Linked DNA regions of Homo sapiens: all the other regions are linked to region 2. Evidence: promoter capture Hi-C in 16 types of primary human blood cells and fetal thymus (Javierre and others, 2016). All regions are on one chromosome and are shown on one strand. Each heading gives the region's core, a stretch centred on a gene start or on the middle of the fragment in contact. The rest is flanking DNA. Distances are from core to core; before and after follow the strand shown.

What was found. The method cuts DNA at HindIII sites, captures the fragments that hold promoters and counts their contacts. A CHiCAGO score of 5 or more calls a contact.
Region 1: a fragment that was not itself captured here is called in contact with the fragment with the promoter of SST in region 2 in 16 of 17 cell types (M2 macrophages, M1 macrophages, M0 macrophages and 13 more); the score reaches 14.8 in M2 macrophages.
Region 3: a fragment that was not itself captured here is called in contact with the fragment with the promoter of SST in region 2 in 6 of 17 cell types (megakaryocytes, M0 macrophages, M1 macrophages and 3 more); the score reaches 13.2 in megakaryocytes.
Region 4: a contact is called between a fragment that was not itself captured here and the fragment with the promoter of SST in region 2, in 1 of 17 cell types (M0 macrophages). The highest score is 5.3, in M0 macrophages.
Region 5: a contact is called between a fragment that was not itself captured here and the fragment with the promoter of SST in region 2, in 6 of 17 cell types (megakaryocytes, endothelial precursors, M2 macrophages and 3 more). The highest score is 8.6, in megakaryocytes.
Region 6: a contact is called between a fragment that was not itself captured here and the fragment with the promoter of SST in region 2, in 6 of 17 cell types (M2 macrophages, M0 macrophages, megakaryocytes and 3 more). The highest score is 7.8, in M2 macrophages.
Region 7: a contact is called between a fragment that was not itself captured here and the fragment with the promoter of SST in region 2, in 4 of 17 cell types (M0 macrophages, M1 macrophages, endothelial precursors and 1 more). The highest score is 8.0, in M0 macrophages.

The regions. Positions count from the first base shown.
Region 1 is chr3:187,331,390-187,334,414 of GRCh38, forward strand. No RefSeq gene overlaps it. Among named protein-coding and RNA genes, the nearest start is that of RTP4, 35 kb to the right of the region's middle. The HindIII fragment of the contact is 4,956 bases long and covers 1-3,025 here.
Region 2 is chr3:187,669,057-187,671,891 of GRCh38, forward strand. SST (somatostatin) reads right to left here and starts at 1,338. Exons shown (of 2, transcript NM_001048.4): 1 at 1,098-1,338; 2 at 1-221. The coding sequence starts at 1,235. The coding sequence ends at 9. The HindIII fragment of the contact is 4,322 bases long and covers 1-2,835 here.
Region 3 is chr3:187,207,685-187,210,892 of GRCh38, forward strand. No RefSeq gene overlaps it. Among named protein-coding and RNA genes, the nearest start is that of RTP1, 12 kb to the left of the region's middle. The HindIII fragment of the contact is 1,949 bases long and covers 770-2,718 here.
Region 4 is chr3:187,244,655-187,247,537 of GRCh38, forward strand. All of the region lies in intron 8 of MASP1 (MBL associated serine protease 1), which reads right to left. Among named protein-coding and RNA genes, the nearest start is that of MASP1, 46 kb to the right of the region's middle. The HindIII fragment of the contact is 7,784 bases long and covers 1-2,883 here.
Region 5 is chr3:187,262,429-187,265,588 of GRCh38, forward strand. MASP1 (MBL associated serine protease 1) reads right to left here. Exons shown (of 11, transcript NM_139125.4): 3 at 115-292. Among named protein-coding and RNA genes, the nearest start is that of MASP1, 28 kb to the right of the region's middle. The HindIII fragment of the contact is 586 bases long and covers 1,415-2,000 here.
Region 6 is chr3:187,282,801-187,286,072 of GRCh38, forward strand. It overlaps MASP1 (MBL associated serine protease 1), which reads right to left. Exons shown (of 11, transcript NM_139125.4): 2 at 3,025-3,256. Among named protein-coding and RNA genes, the nearest start is that of MASP1, 7.3 kb to the right of the region's middle. RefSeq lists an enhancer at 3,040-3,272. The HindIII fragment of the contact is 2,645 bases long and covers 438-3,082 here.
Region 7 is chr3:187,189,093-187,191,906 of GRCh38, forward strand. No RefSeq gene overlaps it. Among named protein-coding and RNA genes, the nearest start is that of RTP1, 7.0 kb to the right of the region's middle. The HindIII fragment of the contact is 2,953 bases long and covers 1-2,814 here.

The DNA of each region.
Region 1 (3,025 bases), core at 111-2,610, 340 kb before region 2:
GGTCTCATTTCAGGTGGGACTAGATGGCAGAGTGATAGTGGGAGGGTCCCTGTACCCTCAGACATTCATTTTGAAATCTCGCGTCTCTCTGAGTTGTGAGAGCTGGTATGGAGGAGCTCCGCAGGCCCTGCCAGAGCTGAGGAACCCCAATTCTGTAAGACCAGTCTCAGAAAAAATAGAATCCACTTACTCTCTTCTAAAATGTTCCACATGGACCCACATGAGTGCGGAGCTCACCTGTTCCTGGTGGTCAGAACTGGTACCCATCCTGCTGCTCTGTTTGTGCAGGTGCAACCAGACATGGGGCCCTTCTCTTTAGGAATTTGTTAGGCATTTGTCCACAGCCATGGGTCAAAAAGCCCAGGAAGATGTTCTCGGTTTACAATAGTGGTCAGGGCCCTTGCTCACAGCTGCTGGTCCCAGGGCCAAGACTTGCCCAGCTTAAAATTCCTTTTCCTCTCCTCCCTGCCTGCTCAGGATCTACTCAGCTTCTCTGGGAAGATATCACTCCTTTCTCTGAACTTCTGGTCTCTTTTTTTAATTGTCTTCCATTATTACTTAAATATTTGCTATCTTGGCTCCTAAGTGGATGTGCCCTTCCTATCTGGCATTTCTTTTGAAATTCCCGGTATTAGTCCATTTTCACACTGCTATGAAGAAATACCCCAGACTGGGTAATTTATAAAGGAAAGAGATTTACTTGACTCACAGTTCCACATGGCCAGGGAGGCCTCAGGATACTTACAATCACAGTGGAAGACGAAGGGGAAGCAAGCATCTTCTTCATAAGGCAGCAGGAGAGAGAAGAGCAAAGGAGAAACTTCCAAACACTTAAGAAGCCATCAGATCTCATGAGAACTCACTAGCTATGATGATAGCAGCATGGGGGAAACTGCCCCCATGATCCAGTCACCTCCCTCCCTTGACATGCAGGGATTACAATTCGAAATGAGATTTGGATGGGGCACAAGCCAAACCATATCACTCCCCCAAACACTTGTTTGGTTCCAATGTCCAGTGTAATGAAGAAGCATTTAAACCTGCCGTCTCTGCATGTGCTCCCACTAGAACCCACCAGTGTGTGTGTCAGTCTCCTGAACCATTCGCTTCTTTTCCTCTTTGCTGATATTTGTATTCCGTCAGACAATTTAGGTACAATTTGTGTTTGACATGATGAAATGCACATGCCTTTACATGGCATGAGCTCTTCCCCATCCAGCACTCATCAGCCTCATGAAACACCACACCCTCTGCCTTCCAGTTAAAATGGATTCTCCAGCCACCTCTCTAAGGCTCTGCACATTTGCTGGGAGAACATGCCACTCAACCTAGTTCTCCATTCATCATCTCTAGAAGCCTTCATGGACTCCCCATTCAGAGCTGAGCTCTCCTATCTCTGTGTTCCCTCACCATTGTGTTCCTCCTTCATGGCGCAGTCATCACGATGGTAATTTCTGTTGTTAAACCACAGGAAACTAGAAAACAGAGGTCAAGTCTCTGTCTTCACGTGTGACTAGCACAGTGCCTAATGAAGATAAATATTTATCAGCTGAATGAATGAATCAATGATTGATTGATTCTTAGATGACTAAAATCATCTAAGACCCCAATTGACAAAGGAAAGCAAAGATCTTGAGCTGGGCTAAAAACCAGAGTTTAACATGAGAATCTGTTAAATGCTTACTCCCATTTACGTCTCTTCAGCCCAAAAGATTCAGATTCAGTAGGACCAAGGCAAGGCCTGGCAAACACATTTTTAAAAGCCTCCCAGTTGAGCCTAATTTATCAGCTCTGGCGACCTGCTGATGACTTGAGGATTCTTCTTTGGGAAAGTCTGTGCTTTTGCCTTTCTCCCAGGGCTCAGGGACAGGAACAATGTGGCAAGAATCACTGGATCTGTTTGGCCCCTCACTCTCTAGGGAGGCTGAAGAGGCCACTTACTTCTCTAGCATTCTAACCCTGCATAAGTAAAACCATTTACAGCCTGACTCCCACGGAGGGCTGTGTCCTAGGCAAGACAGTCCTGTGCCCAAGCAGAATGCAGAGCCACGGAGCCTAGCCTGAGATTTGCATTTTGGCTAACTTCTAAATCCAAGAGGATTTGAGGAAAATAGAGCAACATTTTGCTATTAGGGTCCTGTCATCTCATTACTGCTTGATGTGATTGACAACCCTGGTATGAGCAGTCTGCCTTTCAGCCTCCGTCTTTTTCTAATGAGTATTGACTCAGTGTTTTCCTTTAATTAATATTCATTGCGATAAAAAATGGCACTCATTCACTTTTAATTATACCCTTCTTGCATAAACAGGCTTTTAATAACAGATCTTTTAGGGTGAAAAAACAAGCTCTCTGCTCCCAGCTTTGTCTGATGCCAGGAAAGCAGCCTCTGTTATTGATAAAGGGGATTTCAATTTGTTACTTGGTGCAGTGGAAGGAGCTGTGGGTGGAAAGTTAGCTCTTCTACTTCTAGCTCCAGCTCTGCAAAAGGTATTGGAGGTTCTTGGGCTAACTCCGTTCCCCCTCGCGCCTCAGCCTTTGTATCTGAAAAATGGTGATTGAACCAGATCAGTGGTTCTCATCCATTACTGTATATTGGGATCACCTAGGGAAATTATTTAAAAATACCAAAGACCAGGCCACATTCCAGACCAACTACATGAAAATCACTATGAGTAGGACCAAGGCACCACTATTTTAAAAAAGATTTCCAGATGAAAATTCTTAAATACTGAATACTTCAGGATTGATAACTGCTGATATGGGCATCACTCTCACCAGACTTCGAGTGACTTGGGGCTGCTGCTTGGGTTTCGGATCACACAGGACCCAGGAGAGAGGCTGGGCTCGGCCTCATGCAGCAGCTCAGCTCTGCTCTGTGTTGCTCTGTGCTGAGGGATCACTGCCTGTGGAGGGCTTAGTGGTCTACTCTCAAAGAGGAGAGGAGAGGAGAGAATAATATTCGTGAGCACCAGCTATGTGTCAGACACATTCAACATTTCATCTGTCTGTCATCAGATATGTGTA
Region 2 (2,835 bases), core at 88-2,587:
TAAGAAAGCTAACAGGATGTGAAAGTCTTCCAGAAGAAATTCTTGCAGCCAGCTTTGCGTTCTCGGGGTGCCATAGCCGGGTTTGAGTTAGCAGATCTCTGCAGCTCAAGCCTCATTTCATCCTGCTCAGCAGCCTGGGACAGATCTTCAGGTTCCAGGGCATCATTCTCCGTCTGGTTGGGTTCAGACAGCAGCTCTGCCAAGAAGTACTTGGCCAGTTCCTGTATAGGGCAGAAGGGATAGAAAAAGAGAGAAAGAGAAGTGGGGAGGACAATGGAAAAAATTTGAAAAGCCTAAATTAAAGAACAGATTTGGTCACACACAAAATCCAGTTTTTACAGCTGCGCATTTTTTGTCACATTTAAAATCAATCAAGGATATAAAAATAAGGATAGTTGCTATAATTACCAAGTTACACAAAAAGGCTTTAAGAGCTCAAATGTTTCTGCAACCTTTCTGTCCCTGTAGACTTAACACACACACACACACACACACACGCACAAACACACACACACACACACACACACACATAAAGACCGTTCTGGTAAGATAAAGTGTGTGCCAACAGTTTAATTCAATTTTCACATCACGAGCTACAAAGTAGAATTGTTTTACCATTTTTACCAAGTAAACTGTAGGGGAACGAGACTTCTCACAATCTCAAACATACGGCGTTCGGTCTTTAGATTGCCCCTTTGCCCTAGTCCCGACGTTTGGAAGTGAGGTACGCTAAGAGGTAGCAGCTTCAGAGGTCTGCGTTTCAGCACCTGGGTCAGCGCTTCCCAGGGTCAGCACCAGGGATAGACGCCATTGTCGCTTCGTGCCCAGACAACTACCCAGATTTTGTAATTTTCTTGAATGCCAAGTAAGAACTCACCTGAACTGTGACCGACTGCGCTTATCATGGGGGAAAAAAAGAGTTAGAAGGGGATTCTAGCCTTTGATAGTTTTCTCAAGAGCTTCGGGAGCTGAGGGACCCAGAAAAGCACCAAAACTCTTTAGAAGGACTGAGCATCCCTTACGTCCAAACCAATGGGGCAGGAGCAAGGCTTAGGGAGGGCTGGAGAATCCGGGAGACGTCGAGGGAGTCTCCTTACCTGCTTCCCCGCGGCAGCAGCCAGGGACTTCTGCAGAAACTGACGGAGTCTGGGGTCCGAGGGAGCGCCGGTGACACAGCCCAGGGCCAGGACGATGGACAGCGCAGCCAGCGCGCACTGGAGGCGGCAGGACAGCATCTCGGCGCCGCGAAAGCCGAGCTGGAGAGTGGCTGGTCAAACTCTAGGCGCGGATCAGCAGGCAGCAGCGATGGCTCCGAACCTCGCTCCTAAAGCGGCTTGTGTGCTCTCAACCGTCTCCCTCTGTTTTAAACTCTCTCTCTGACGTCAGGCTAGGAGGCGCCCCCAGATCTCACCAGCCCTTTTACGCACCATTAGCCTCGCAAAATCAATCACAGAAGACAGGGGAGGTGACAAGATCTAAAGTGGCTTACTTAAAAAAAAAAAAATACTGCACACGCACAGGCACACACAATTCCACATGCCCCACGATTTATACAATCTTTTATTTTCACTCAGTGCTATGAGCATACACATTCCACAATTTCACTCCCACACATGCACACTCAATTACACACAAACAGAGGCTCAAACACTCAGCTCTTAAAGAGCAAATACACTATCACCCTTAAATGCACACAAATGTACCCAGACAACTCCATCTGTCATCATACTCTAACATTTTAGGAAGGCCCAACAAGCAACAGGGCATGTGTATGGTAGGTGGAGATCAGAATCATTCCTCTAATAACAGATTTGAGAATGAAATATGGACAGTAGAAGGACTGAGCCCTCTTTATTTCCTCCATTATCTCATAAAAAGCCTTGAAGATGTAACGGGGCTCTAAAAGAACTTCACTTTTCTCTACAATGGGGGAGAAGGTACCTCTGGCTCACCCTCCCTCCCTCTTTCTCAGCAACTGAGACTTCTGATCTACCTGCCTTTCTATTGTGACCATATATATGTATGAGTGTGTGTATATGTACGGGAGGGAAAGAGAGAGAGAGAGATTGAAATGGACTTCATTTTGGTGCTGAGAAATTTAGAGCTGGAAGGCAATCTAAGAAATTATTCAATAAACCTCAGAATTTGAATCAGTAAGGCAGAGTAATGGTCAGTAAATTGTTCTCCTTCACATACTGCACACTTTGAGCAAAACCAGACCTCCACATTCCAAAGCCAGTGTTCCTTCTACTGAGCTCTGAGTTTTCTAACAGATTCCTGGCCGGTAAGCATAGTTTTATGTCAGGAAGCCCCAGTTTAGACATATAAGGTCTAGGAACTCCCAGAACATATGTGACCACTATTGTATATCTATATGTGGAAAGGATCAAAAGATTCTTGGTTAAATTCAGCTCTGCCTGATCTCCTAGAAACAAAGAAAGTTTAAGAAAACCTGTCCTTGAATTCTGATTGAACTCTGGTTAAATGTTTACTGTTCAGGCCAGAGTTCTGACTGCTTTTATCTAAATAGTTCCTTACTGAGGAAGGACCAGCTAATTTCCTAGCATGGACGAGATGATCCCTACAGGATCTTTAAGAGCTGTTATCTTATGAGCTTCAAAAAAGCCAATATTAGCTAAAAAGATATGCTGCATCTCTGGAAACCATGCGAAGCTCATATTAGGTATTAAAATATTCTCAGTACTTAGACCCGAACCACAGTGTTGAGAGGCAGAAGGGTTTGGGAAGTATCCTGAATGGCTTGAATAATTGTCACTATTTCTTTTTGTGCTTGTAATCCAAGGCAAAGCGGAAATGCACAGCAAGAAGTGTTAA
Region 3 (3,208 bases), core at 494-2,993, 460 kb before region 2:
GTTCCTCAGCCTCAGTGTAAGCTGCCAAAAGTAACCATGCAGCTGCTTGTTTTGCTTAGAAATTTATTCTGCCAGATACCTTAGCTCATCACTTCCAAGTTTGGCCTTCCACAGAGTTCTTGAGTGTGGACACAGTTCAGCCAAGTTCTTTGCAAATTTATAACAAAGATGGCTTTTATTCCAGTTTCAAATACTTTGTTCCTCAGTTCTATTTGAAACCTCATCAGAATGGCCTTTACTGTTCATATTTCCATCAGCACTCTGGTCATGACCACTTAACCAGTCTCTAAAGAGTTTCAAACTTTCCCTAGTCTTTTTGTCTTCTAAGCCTTCATCAGAATCTAGGCATTTCCTAGACTGCTCCTCCAAATTCTTTCAGCCTCTGCCCATTACCTGATTCTAAAGCCAATTCCACATTTTCAGGTATTCATTACAAGCAGCACCCCACTCCTTGGTAGCAATTTTCTCTCTTAGTCTGTTTTCTGTTGCTTCTAACAGGATACCTAAAACTCCATTCATCCATTGAAAAACATTTGAATTGTTTCCACCTTTTGCCTATTGTGAATAATGCTTCCACAAACATTAGTGGGCAATGATTCATCTGTTTGAATTCTTGCTTTCAATTCTTTAGGTAATTTTGTAGTTGTTCAAGATGGGGCATTTGGAGTATAGCCACCTCTTCCAGTCTTTGCAGACTGGCTTTGTGCCAGAGAAGCCCTTCACTAATTAGCTGGGCGTGCCCTGTACCTAGGGATCAGCCAGAGGTGAAAGCTTAAAGTCTTTTCAGTTCTTTTATGAGCATGCATCTTGACTGGGCCTATGGCTTTTTCAATTTCCCAGTATACAGGCCTGCTTTTGAATGTCTTCATTTCCCAGAGTCTCACTCCAGCTTCTCCTCTGGGTCTTAGATGATCTATTGTGTAGCTCCACCTGTAATGTCTCGCCACAGGTGTCTGTGGAGCTTTTTAAAGCAGACTCCCATGCCTGCGACCCTAGGTTAAAGAGGGAGATTAGCCCTCCAGGCAGCCCCACAAAGATGTTAAAACATTGCAAATAAGGTCTGATCTGCTCCTTCTGTTCTAAAGGAGGATATTGGGCATGGGCTGCTGCATCTCCCTGTGCCACACCAGGGAAAGTGTGGGTCAAGGGTGAGTAAAAACACCATGAATTTCCTGATGTTTTGAATGTGGCTTTTTCTTGACTGAGCCTTCACTTCTTTGCTGTGGACCTTTTACCATTTTCCAACACTCCTATAAAGTTAATTTCATTGAGTTTCTGGTTGTTTTAATGTTTCTATGAGGGGAACATGGGTTTGGATCTGCCTCGTCTGCCATTTCACTGCAACACACTCAACTGTTCTCCCTGTTCTTGTCTTCCTACAACCCGGCCTCCACGCAGGGCCATAATGATACCTCACACATGCTGTTCCATCTGTTCCTCTTTTCTCTTTGCCAGGCTAATTCCAACTCATTCCGTTTCCAGCCTACACTCTTTCCTCTTCATTTTATCCATTCAAGAATAGAATAGATGCTCCTGCTAAGAACAAGTATATTTCCCTCTGCTTTCCATTTCATAGGGTCTCCTTCCAACTGCAAGACTTTATGATTCTCAAAGTCTACTTAGGGAAGCAAGTATTTACAGAGTCATGGGATGTTAGAGTTGGAAGAACCATTAGAGGCTCAATCACTTCATTTCAAAAATGACAAAATGTGGTGAGAGTGTGGGAGTAACTAACCCCGGGGCCTACTGTCAGGTGATGGTAGAGCAAAGCATCCAAGTCTCACCTAGTTTTAGTCCAGAACTGTTTCCCAAGACTCTTCCTGATCTGCTAGGAAGATGTTTCAATCTAAGGAGGCCTCACCTGCCTCTCTTACTGCCTCTTATACTTGCTGCAGATGGGGAATTCTGGGTTTGCTCATGGGCTTTGCTTCTGTCTTGGCAAAGATTTCTCTGTGATAGTTCTTTCTTTGCACACATTGCCACATGCCACATAATGAACTTGTTAGATGTATCTTATGTGTTATAAATAAACTCCTCAGGGAAATTCCTGGATCCTGGGCCTCTCCCACTGGAGCTTTTGTTTGCTTGTCTTGATGTTCAAGCCAGGAAGAGAACTACAAGCACTGAATTATAGTTCCAGAGGCTGAAATTCTTGGTGTAGGGTTGAGAAAAATTGTTATCTCTATTGCTTTCCTCATGCCCATCTTGACAGAGGACCAGCTCAATGGGAGGATTCCTTCTGGGGTTCAGGAGCCCTGAGAACTGAGAGGACTGCCAAGGAAGGAATATGTCCGACATAGTAAGTCCATAGACTATCAGAGCTATAAGACAAATTAGAGATGCTTTGAGCTAGGGCCCTTATTTTGCAGATGAGAAATTGAAGCCCAGAGAAATTAGGAAACTTGACTAGCATTGTATATCATGGGGTAAGAGAAGATCATGAAATTTGGGGTCAGAAAACACTTGAGTGCTGGTTCTGCTACTTACCAGCTCTGTAACCTCAAGCAAGCCTCATTTTCCTCCTCATCAAAATGGAAATAATCCTATCTGCCTTGGAGGGCTATTGCCAGGAATAAAGAATACTCTGTCTACGATAATGCCTGCTATAGGGCACATGCTCACTGAATGCTCATGCTCTTCTTTCATCCTCTTTCCCTTCTAATTTGCAGCTTCCTCTTTGAGTCCTGAAAGGCTCTTCCTTCTCTATGATTTCAGTTAAGCTTGGTTGGTAAATACTTAAAAAAAAAAAAAAAAAGGCAAGGGTTAATTTTGCAGCTTTGAAATGGTTTATTTATTAACTGTAGAGTTATTTATTTTCTTCCCTCATATTTATTTCAAAGCAATGATTTCATTTTTCCAGAAGCACGATGGTCACTCTTCATTCTTCAAAGATAGCTGTTTAAAAACATCTCTTTAAACAGAAAACACCAGTAATTTTCTGGGCTCCCTTCCCATTGGCTGGAATACTCCAGAGGAATTTAGTTCTTTTCCAAGTCCCATTCTGGTTCTCTGTGGGACTCCTAGCTAAGGAATTTCCTTTGGAGTCATTTTTGGCATTGCTTGGGTACTGCCACATGCACCAGGGAAATGAAATCCGCCTGTTATATGACTATGCTGTTACAGAGTCCTGTAGAGGTGGTTGCATTAGTGGTTGTGGTATAGAAGAGCTCATTGGCCTTGGAGTCAGAAAACCTTGGTTTCAGACCTG
Region 4 (2,883 bases), core at 370-2,869, 420 kb before region 2:
CAGAATGAGAGCAAGATTTGACCTCAAACCCAGGGCTGTTTTAGTAAATGGAACTAGTGGTTCTTAAGGATCTGTTTTCCAGTTAAATGGCCTATTCTAGGTACTAGCTGGCCAATGGTGGACATCAACTGTCAGAATTTCCAGAGCCCTGGTAAAATTTCCAAAGTTCCATGTCCTCCTGAATTTTACCTGGTCATTTTGGGAAACAGTGAGATATAATTTATCCCTGAGTGCCATTTAGACATTGTGATTTTAACTTTAGGACTCCAAATTCATCTTTTTGATTAGCTAGAGAGTCCACTCAAAATGCAAATAATTTCAAGTCCCTCCGGGTTGGAGGAAAAGATGAAGGAGGGGAGTAAATATAGGTACTTCTTATCCACTAAGAAGGCCAATCAAGACAACTGGTTTTGTCCTGGCCTCTAGTCCAATCACCCTGGACAAATCATCTCCATTTGTTTTGATGATCCAAAAGTACAGATGCTCTTCTACTTTGTGAGGTAAATGTGTGCAGCTCAACACTAGGATAATGAGGCAATAATATTTATTATTTAAATACTATGAACAGTTTTAAATTTATTTTCTGTTAAAGCCGATTTTTCCTCCTTTTTCAGAAAATGCCATTGACTTGGTGCCTAGGTATTGGTATCACTCATCTCCCTTAACTTTGGTCCACCTGACCGCCCAGTTCAGGAATTCCAGGGTTGGCTTTAGTGTGGCTAGATGGACGGGCCCCTGGGAGCCTGTTATGTGGCTGATGCTGGCGGATAGATATTTTCTGGGTGGAGGACCTACTTTCACATCACTTCAGAGAAGTAACTTTGCCCACTGATACAGCTGGCCCTACAACTAGGTAGAGGGGGTGATAAATAGTGGAAGGTAGAGGGTCTTGGCAGTGTGGAGGGGCGTACTTTCTTCCCAAGTCCACAGTGGCAGGGAAAAAGCCATGTTTCTCTGGGACATGGAAGTGACTTAACCCCTCACAAGAGGCCTTGAGCAGCTCTGTCTGGCACAATCAGCACACACTAGACCCTGCTTCCTCCGTTGACTTATGCTCTTTGCTTTAGGAAGGGTTTTATCCTTTTCTCTAAAGTCCTGTCTGGCCAGTTCCGCACTCTGGAATCAAAACACCCTTCTCTTTCCCCTTGCCTTGGAGGTACCGCCCAACACCCTATCTCCATGGTAATTTCTTGTTGCCACTTATTTTTCTCCAGACACACATTTCTTGACCTACAGTTCCAAGTGTGCTTTGCTGTACTGGGGGGCTTTCTAGAGAACGATGTGCAATCAGCTAACCCTGGCACTCAGGCCTGGGGGTTTGGGCTCTAGCCCCCTCCCTGGCCTCATCTTCTTTCCTCCCCTTGGTGCACCCACCCTCCGAACACCAGCTCCTTCAGTGTGCTCCCCTGCTGCCTCCTGCTCCCAGGCCTCTCTGGTGCCATCCCTGCTGCACGGGGCACCCTGTGTCCATGCTCTGGCCACCCTGAAGTCCTGATGAAACACTCCTTCTTCTTGAAAGCCTTTCTAATTCTAACTGGGCAGGGCTGCTTCCTTGTTCTGGAACTCTTCACTCATGTTTCTTTGATGGAATATATCTAATGTTGTCTGCATCAAAGCTATTACAATTATTTGGGTACATATCAAATCTTCCTCTTAAATTCTGATGCCCTGTATGTCACTGAGTATGAATGCTGTTAATACGTTGTAGGTTTAAAGACATTTATTCAACTGACACTTGTCTTTAGTAGCCAGCCCATCTCTTCTTTGGGTGGTGTCTCTAGCCGAGAATGGCACCTCAGTCTCCAGACTGCCCAGGGTTCTCCCCTCACCGCACAGCCATTTAATCACCAAATAGATCGGGCAGTCCATTTAATGCAAAGATTCTCTGACATGTGTGTCCAGATGTTCAGACGGAAGCAGAGATTCCAGCTGCCACTCCCCAGCCCTTTCTCTATCACTGTTTAGGACCTGTGATGTCCCACAGCACAGAGCTGGGACCACTGCTTTCAGGTGTGATCCTATCTTTTTAAAATTTTTAATCAGCGAATTTTAAGAAACATAGAACTTGTAAGCCCCAGAAGACAGAACCTCTAATGATGACATTTCAGCCCTGCGCCAGATAGGGGTAGAAGGGATACTTTTGTGAATGAGAAAACATTCAGATTCTCAAAAATCCACACTCTGTGAGTTATTATTTGCTTTACCTACTCATGGTGGTTAAGAAAGCAGCAACAGGTAATACCTTCAGATTCATAAAGTCACAGGCAGTCTGGTTCATTTAAACTTGACATGTAGAATGGATTAGAAACCACTTTGATCTGGTCAGCCTGAGGCCACATGGTTGTATATTAAATCTTTTGTCTCAAGGACCAAGGGCATTTTTTTTTTCCGTTGAGAAAAGTACAGTCCACTCAGAGGTGCTAAAATAAATCCCACATTTTTTTTTCATTATTTTCTGGAATAGTGTTTGAATGATGGGCAAACCCTCAAGTGGAGAATTTGCTTTCACACACGTAGCAGCTTCAACTGCTGAGATCATGTTGTTCAGCACCCATTCTAATCCACATGGAAAGGGGCACGGGGGTGTTGTGGGTGGGGAGGGGTGGTGCAGCTCTGGGCCCCAGGGGTCTTGGGAGTGATCCATTTCTGGATGTCTGCATTGTGTGGGGTCCCGTCATTCACTCTGTCACTTGCTCTGACTTGAGTTCGCTCTCCAGATCGATTTCATTTTCTGCCACCATGGTGAAGATCAAAGAGGGATCAAGAGATACAGAGGAAGGAAGCAGAGAGAGGAAGAGAAAGAGAGAGAGATTAGCAAGCAAAGCAGAAACAGTTTATGCAGGAAATACAGAAATTACTCCACCAGAATTGATTAAGAATGCA
Region 5 (3,160 bases), core at 458-2,957, 410 kb before region 2:
TAAAATCTATGTGGTGCACACACAGATTTCCATCGTAAAGGAGAGGTCACAAGGCAGTTTTCATCTTCGGAGAGAGAGAGAGAGACCTGAGGATGAGTCACTTCTCCAACTTACCCACAGCCATGTAGTGGGCATCAAAGCCTGTGAAACGCTCCTCATTGGAGAAATCTGACCGGAAAGTGATGGACATGAAGGAGCCAGGGGAGAGGACCACCTCCTGGCCGGGAGTCTGCTCTGTGTCTGTGGTCTCCCTGCCACAGAAGGTTGCCAGCACCTGGTCCTCAGTTTCTACCTTTGAGGTCAAAGAGAAAGGGAACAAGATGAGCAGTTTCCCAGCTAGGCTTCTTTCCTTATCTTTAGAAAGAAAAAGGAAGGGGCCACCCAAGAGTAGGCTAGTCAGCCTGAGAAACCCAAAGAAAGGAGGTTAAGGATTCTTGAGAAAAGACGCATTACAAGTTAATTCAATGTGGACATCTGATCAGTTTCATTCGTCTTATTTAGTTCCATTAGAAGTAGCTTGATATTTGTTGTTGCTGTCAATAACCAAGCAGCTTATTTATTAAAAATAACTCAATATGAAAGTTTTAAAAAGTTAGATAACCTCGCAGACAGATTCTCTGCACAACAGGAACTTACCACATTTCCAAAGAATGGAAACTGTATACACAATATAAGTCATTCATTGAGTATCCAGTGTGTGCCTACTGCCGAGCAAAGCATGAGATGGAGGTGATGAGAGATAGACACAGTGCTGTGCACACAATAGCAGTGTTGAGATTGAGGAACACAGACACAGGCAGGTATTACACAGTGTGACAAATGCTTTCACACAAGCAGAAGCACTGCATATGCACTCAAAGCAGGCAAACAATCCACATTAGAATATAAGCTACAGGAGAGAAGGACTTTATTTTCTTTATAGATGTGTCTTCAGTGCATGGAACAGGACCTGGCACATAATAGTTATCCAATAAACATTTGTTTACAAGAACTGAAAGTACAAGCCCCATTCTGTGAACAGTGAGTAGCCAGGGAGTCTGTGGGGATTGTAGGAGGAGATGTACTTGGAAGGATACATGGAAAGAAAATTATGGTTGACCTTGAATGCCATTAATTCTGTGAGTAAGTGGAAGACACTGAAAACTTTTAAGCAGGAAAGTCATGTAATGAAAACTAATGTTTAATAGGCAGTCTTAATACAGAAACTATTTATTGGAATCACCCAAAAATAGTTTGAGTGTGTATCTCTGTGTGTACATGTTTGTGTTAAGACTTAGATGCAAAAAACATGCCTGTTTGCTAAAAGAATTCCCTTCTTTGGAAGAGCCAGAGGCCCTGTGCGAATTCAGAGATCCAAGCAGAGATCCTAAACTGGTGGCTTAAAGCTGATTTTATGTGAGACAGGAGTTTGGGAAGCTTCGTATGATAGCTAGTTGGTATATTTATTTGAGTATAAATTCTTGACGTATCTATTCGATTATCTTATACCTAATCCAATTCTTTTAAGTTGTATTTGTGTTTGCAACCTCTGGACCAAATTTTAGCCAAGATGCATGAAAAAAATCTCTTACCAAGAATGATTCCTGCTGCCTTTCAAAGTCATTAGAGAAAAGTTCTCAAAGGCGGCTATCTCTAGTAGCTTCTAATGAATTCATTGTTTTGTTCGTTAGCTTAGCATGTCAGAAATATCTTGACATTTGACACTCCTGTTTTGAAACTAATGGTTTATTTATTTAAAATAAGTGGGAGTTTCAAAGAAAAACAATTTGCCCTGGCAACAAAACGCAAGTACAATTAATCACTAACTTTGGGAATTGAAGTGTAAACAGAAGATGAGATCATGGCTTTGCTATTTATTCCTCTTCTCTGCAGATACCAGCCGAACTCACACCAGTCTTGTTACTATAGAATGTGCCTATCTGCACACAGCTGAAATGTCACTTCCTTGAACCTCCCAGCTGCTGTGTTATTTTATCTGACTCAGTTTTCCAGATAGCCAAAGCTTTACCTAACTATAACTAAAAATTTTCTTTTTGGTGTAACACTTAAAAAAAAAAAAGTACTTTAAAGAAGTACCCACTTTCTCAAGTGAAACATGCTAACCCTTTCTTGGTGATCCAGGGACATTGTTATGAATGTCAACCATTGTGATACTATATTAAAGTGATAATCTTGGGGATATTGAGTTGTGTAATGTCGCTTGACCTGGCGTTAAACATTGCCGGACTATAAAGCCTTGAACTTCTGAAGTCTTCTTTATGTCATGTTTTATTTCCTGTCTTTTTATCAGCCTATTCACTGTACTTTTCTGTCTGCTTATTTTTAATATGTTGTGAATTAGAAACCAGTTAACTGCTTTTGCTAGAACTTAATAAAAAAAAGCTAAATAGATTTAGAATGAGGGCCTGGGAAAGGGATTCTTCTGTGAGTAACTGCATGAACTAGAGTACACCATCTTGGTGACCTCTGCTTTGGAGTAATACGATATACAGGAACCTGGCAGTTGGAGGTCCTGGGTCCTGTTCCTGACACTGCCGTATTCTGCATTTTGGGCCATCTCCTTTCTAGCTCTCAGTTATCCACTTGTAAAAACAGGGGTTTGGACTAGCTGAGCTCTAGATTCCTTTCCAATTCCAGACATAGCAGTCATCATAGTCTAACACAGTTCTAACAAATCATCATAGTCATATATTATATAAACCAACCAGAAGATGGTAAGCAGGAGTTTTAACATATGCAGGATTACTGCTTGCGGATGAACTTGAATTTGTTAATAATGAATAGTCATGCCTTGGGCATTAATAGTTCCAGCTACACAGGCTTCTTTCTGGAACTTGGTATCCCCAGTGCCTCTTGGGTTCTGCAGTGACTGGGACATGAACATTTTCAAGTGAACACACTGGTCATTTGGATTAGGGAGATACTACTGAGGGTCTGTGATAAATGACCTCCCTCCTTGTAACGTCTGGGCTGAAGGACCTTTTCATAATGGCAGATAAATCAGATAAATGGTTATCACCTGCAGAGCCACAGTATTCCAGAGAACAGGAAGCATGCCCCAGCTGAGGCCCATGGGAAAATTTGAGCCATACATCCTTTTAGAAGCAGAGAAGAGAAGGCCAGTAGCCTGGGGCCCTGGGAATTCAGCCTGCAGCTCAGA
Region 6 (3,272 bases), core at 510-3,009, 390 kb before region 2:
AGTCAGCTGTGCAAGCACAAGTGGAGAAGTCTATCTCACCTCCCGCCGCCACCATGTTAATCTCTTCTTTGAAAGGAACTGGAAAATTGTCCCAACTCACAGATGCAAGGACTGTAGGGCACTTCAGGTAGGCAGCTCAGTCCCTAAGTTGCCTCAAGTAGACTACTTCTCTGTTATGCCCAGAGGTCATCTGTCTAATTTTGGAGCAGAGAGGGTGCTGTAAAATAATATTCTTCTCCACTCCATGTCATTTGGGGAGTTAGTGACAGATCTGAGACCAGAAAAGGCATTTCCTGAATTCCATGTAAGGGCCCAGGACCATGCTGCCCCTTCCAGAGGGCCCATGTCCATCTACTTGTGGTTTCAGGAAGGAGTCTCACCACTCTAGATAGAAACCATCAACCAATTTCCAAAATATTCTCTAGCCAAGAAAGTCAAGCTTTGGATAGAAATCTATTCCAGTGTCTTTAATTCAGTGTTAGAAGAGGTCTTCAGATTATATTATTGCTCTTGAAAAGTATCATCATTTTTTCCCATTAACAAAATGCTGCTTTATGTCAGCTGCTTCATCTGCCTTCCTTGGATACTCCACTTATTTGGAGCAAAGAAATGAGCTAAATCCTCTCTTGTGTGTTTATCATCTTGATGAAGGAGACCTAACAAGGTTAAATTTGTCTTCTGTCTGAAAAAGAATCAAACTTAAGAGAAAGAGTTTCTCAATGACTATGAAGTTAAGAGTCAAATCTTAAGGAGGAGAGGGGGCAAATTATGAGAAGAAGTCATCCCTACAACTGAGCAAAAAAATTCTATAATTTCTGTGATCTTGAGCCTCAGGTACCAATAAAAGCTATTGGCACTGACAAAATTTCTAGATGGTTAGCATGTTTGAAAGTAGAGAAAAATGTGGTTAGAAAGTTCATATCTAGCCTTGTCTAAATCCATGGAACTTATTGTCATATTAAACCAGTGTTTGGTAATTTTTCTTCCGGTTAAGACAACTCTCCAACCAAAATACTAAAGAATGCCATGATTTTGTGACCAACATTATTTGGGGGAATGGGCCGGGAGATTCCACTTAGCCTGAGGACCCATACCTACAATCCATCTTATCCTGGAGTTTAACTCTGGATAACCCTTTTATCCTGAAAAGCGTAACTGGCCTTTTTGTCAGAAAGTTCAGTTTAGGATGATACATACTCATGGCCTCAGTGAAGACCCCCCTGGTTGATCCTTGTGACCCTGAGAAATTTGTTCTATTTTTAATGAATTTGTAGAAATCGCATCTAGATTACCAATCCGCGTTGTCTCTTAGAGCAACCAGTTCCACATTTTCTCATTCTTTATCAGTTAGTCTTTATTGCCATCACTGTTTTCTATCTTGTGCAATGGCTATTTTCAAGACTCATCTTTCTTTTTAAGGGACCAGATCTTTTGTGTCCTAAAATTTCCACCGTCCCTAGCACAGGGCATTCTAAGAGGGCATCATCCCATATAGCAGTGGTTCTGGGACATTGAACAACATCTGGACACATTTATGATTGCCATAACTGGTGGGGCCGGGGCTGCTACTGGCACCTAGTTAGGGTAGAAGCTAGGGATGTTGCTAAAAATCCCACAATGCTCAAGACAGCTTTTCTCAGCAAATGATCTGGTTCAAAATATCAGTAGTGCTGAGGTTAAAAATCCCTACCATGGAACACCAATTTTGGAAAATTTTTAGACGCAGAGACCTATTGTAAATGGGACATTGCAGGCAGACCCAACATATACAATGACAATACTCTACATATAAAATAAGCGGAAGCACAGTGCCTTTGTATGCCTCTGCTGTATCTTAGGCTCAGTGGAGAATAGCTTGGGAGTTGTTTGGTGTAGACAAAAGAGCATGTGATTCAAAAACACAAGGCATGGGTTTGAGACCTTAATCCATCACTTACCAGATGTACAACCTTGGGTGAGTTGCTTAACCTTCCTGGGTTACTTCTTTACCTGTGAAATGGGGTCATGGCTCCTGTCTCAAAATTGTTTTAAAGTTTGATTGAGATTATAATTGTAAAAGCACCTTGTAAACTCACTTCTCTGCTGTTGACCAAATATTCTGGTTAATACAAGGTTAATTCATGTTGAATTACTGGCTATGGAATAATGAGTCTACAATAATACTAAAAATATCTAAATGCTCTAGAGTTGTTTGATGAGAACCTCTTTCAGGAAGCTGGAGAGAGCTTAGAAGGTAGGTTCTTAGGTCTCCACGTCTTTTTTAACTAGATATAACTGCAATAAACTTGATCCCTTAGAAATATTCTGACCTTTTTCAGCCTCACTTTAAAAGAAGAACAGCTTCCCACCCATGGAATTTTTTTTTTTGTGGGGGGTTCTCTAAATTCCAGGGTATATTGTTTTGATGTGGTCCTGCTCTTCCCCCATATTTACTTTTTACATCTACTTCTGATGGTGACCGTCCCCTTCCTACCCACACTTTTTGCTGATAAAATGCAAACTACTTGGCATGACATTCAAGGCCCTTAAGAATCTCGCCTCCACTCACCTTCCTACTTCATCTCTGACTCTTTACTACTGTATATCCTGCACTTCCCAAATACTTGATCTTTATTTGGGAAATTGGACAATGCTTTCTAATGCCTCAACTTTGGACATAATTATGGTTCTCTTTCCATGATTACTGCTTACTCTGAGGTCTCTGCCCTTTTCTGCTTGTTGAATTAAAGGTGATCTTGGAACAGAGGCTGGTAGAAACACTAAAGGCTTTGAGAACAGGAAGAAAGAAGGGATGTTGTGTTGGGCTGAGTCATACTCTATCAATCAGCTTCAGTTTCCTTCATGGACCTTTCTAGTTCTACCCATCAGCTTGCACTTAGCTTTCCACCTTGACCTGAATTCATACCATTGTGATGTTGTGTGTCTCTCTTACTATATGCCACCCTGGAAGGGTCTAATTTCATATTGCCTTGTCTAAATCCCAGAAGAGAGCCTGGCCCAGTTAGGGGACATCAGGAGTCTCACCTTCACATAGTCATATTCACAAAGGTAGGAGGATTCCAAGTTGAAGTGCATGAAGTAAAGCTTGATCCGAAACCCATCTGGGACAGTGATATTCCAAGTCACCTCTGAATCACTGGGATAGGAGTCTGGATAACCAGGCGACTGGATCTGGCCAAACATATTGTTTAGCTCCACGGTGTGGGCTGAAGCCTTTGACAGGGAGAAGCACAGAGCATAATAGAGAAGCAGCCACCTGAAAGACATGAATG
Region 7 (2,814 bases), core at 149-2,648, 480 kb before region 2:
TAATAGTGGTAACAATAAAACCACAACACCCCTTTCACTTCCCAAAAGTAGTCAATATTAACTGCCTGCTTACTGTGGGCTGGCACGTTGTTAAGTGCTTTCTATTGCAAGGCACAGAGAGTCAAGGTTTTGAAAGTGAGATGGTGGCACTCAGTAAAGAAGAGCTTCTTAATAGCCAGGGGTTAGAGAGTGCTGCTATCACTGGATAACGAGCTCCACATCACTGGAAATGTTCACATTCAGGCTAGGTAACTGCTTGGCTCTCAATAGGCATTGGTTATTACTTCAATTTCAGAGGCAACCCTAATCCCAGATCACTGGGTCTGTCTAAAGATAGACAGTGAAGTCTCCTCATTCTATATGAAGAACCATCTTCTCACTAAATTAAAATCTGATTATTTTATACCTATTTATGTCTTCATATGAAATGTCTCAGAGTCACTGGCACATCTGATTAGGATTAGACTAGATAATTTCCAAGATCCCTTTTACTCCATAATTCTGTTCTATACATCTTTGTATTTTCAGGTCATATGGTAGAGACTCAGCCAAAGTGACTGAATGCAAATGTGATTCAGGTTTATTCTGTGGCCACTGTGAAATACACATCTGCTGTCCAGAGCGGTTTCCTCTCATTTGCAAAAGAGAGGACCAAGTTTTCTTGTTTTATTGCTTTTCTTGGAAAGATCATGCTCAGAAGGAGGGCAAGTGTGCATCAGAATGGATTTTTTTCTACTCCTTCCTCCACTTTCTTTCTTTCTTTTTACCCTAGTGAGTAGAGGTCTTTGATATAATAGAATAAAGGGACATAAACTTTGTTAGCATAGTAAGAAATGACAGCTATGCAATGGAATGTGGTCAGTATTAGTGGGAGAAAGGTTATTAGCTTATAGATACTCTACACCGAAGGTTGAAGCAAGGTCCTGAAGAGAAAGTAGAAGAGCAGAAGAGATCAAAGAGAAGACCTAGAAAGGAGACCAGAAAAAATAAGGGGAAGTTCTGGACATGCATTCTAGGTGGACTCTCAGTGGACCTATTGGAGATTTGATGGAAGAGTAAAGGAAAGTTGTGTCCTGTCTTCTGAACTCCATGAGTATGCCATTCAACCACAGTAAGACGGTCTGATAATGTACAGTGACTTCATTTCCTACTAGACCTTCCATGAAATGTTATTAGGGTTGAACGGTTGCATATCTTTCCAAAACTGCTTCAGGAAGAATCTCTTGGGGGTACAGTCTGAAGATACGTTCCCATAATAGTGGCTGCTTGGCAACAGGAACATGCTTAAGGGTCAGTCTTCATGTCCTAAGCCAAAGGCTCTGGGTTAGTGTGGGTCACCTGGCTATTGATGTTCACTGGACATGAAATGAGTGAGACTAATTTATCTCTATATCCCATGTGTCCAGTATAGAGCCTGGCACATGGTAGTTGATAATTCAGAGTGTTTTAAAAAACAAATAAATGAATAACATTGTTGCTTCCCCACATGTAATGTTGCCTTGCCCCTTCTTCAGAATAAGGGGAAGGAAGCTGTCTTTTATTTTAGATCAAATATCCTGAAAATAGGGAAATTAGTTTTTGAGGACTTGATAATTTCTCTCAAGTATGCCCTTCTTCACTTCCTGGACCATGGCACTGTTCCCTTGGTAATATCCATAGAACATTTTCTGATGAATGCTCTTCTCAAAGACAAGATCTTGCACTTGAAAAAAAAAAAAAAAGCAGAGAGACTGGGCAGTAGTGCATGCCTGTAGTCTTAGAACTTTGGGAGGCTGAGGTGGGAAGATCACGTGAGCCCAGGAGTTTGAGACCAGCCGAGGCAACACAGTGAGACCCTACCTCTACAAAAAAAAAAAAAAAAAAAAAAAAAAAAAAAAAAAATTAAAAAATCAGCTGATCATGATGGTGCATGCCTGTAGTTCCAGTTATTTGGGAGGCTGATGTGGGTGGATCACTTGAGCCCAGGAGATCGAGGCTGCAGTGAACCATGATTGAACCACTGCACTCCAGTCTGAGTGACAGAGTGAGACCCTGTCTCAAAAAACAAACATAGAAAAAACAAAACACATAGACTGGGCACAGTGATGTGTGCCTATAATTCCAGCTACTCAGGAGGCTGAAAAGGAGGATTGCTTGAGCCTGAGAGCTCAAGAGTAACTTGGGCAACATAGACAGAACCCATCTCTGAAAAAAAAAAACACAGAGTTTTATGGGGATAAAACTTCAAGAGAATGAAGACTGGGGGACTTTGGATTTTGGGCTGTATATCTCTGAAGGGCCCTCGCTGATGGTAGGCACATATGCCTCACAAAATTGAGCAAGAGCTTGGAAAAGAAGTTCAATGGTTGCTGTTGGGGTGGAGGGGAAGCAAAGGAAGAGGTTCTTATAAATCATGACTGGGCATGCAGAGGTGGGTGGTACTGGCAGGCTGGGTACCTGTAATGCTTTCCTTTGCTTTGACCCAAAGGGAGCAGCCCTACTGTTCCTATCTGGCTATGTTTTGGGATTGGACTTGCTGGATTAGTTTACTCTTTGGCTACTTTGCCTTTTTGATCCTTAGTTTGCTTTTTTTTTTTTTTTTTTTTGCAAAATAATGTCAACCTCTACCTACATCATAGAATTGGACATCGTGTTCTCAAGGCACTAAGCTCTTTGAAGGATGAAGAAAAATAATCAGGTACTGTGGTAGAAAGTCTCCAAAGATGGCTGCCACCAATTCCTTCCCTTCCTATAGGCACAGGCAATTTCCCCATCAAGAGTTGAAGTTTATTTCCCATTCCCCTATATCGGGCTGGCCCTGTGATTGCTTTCATC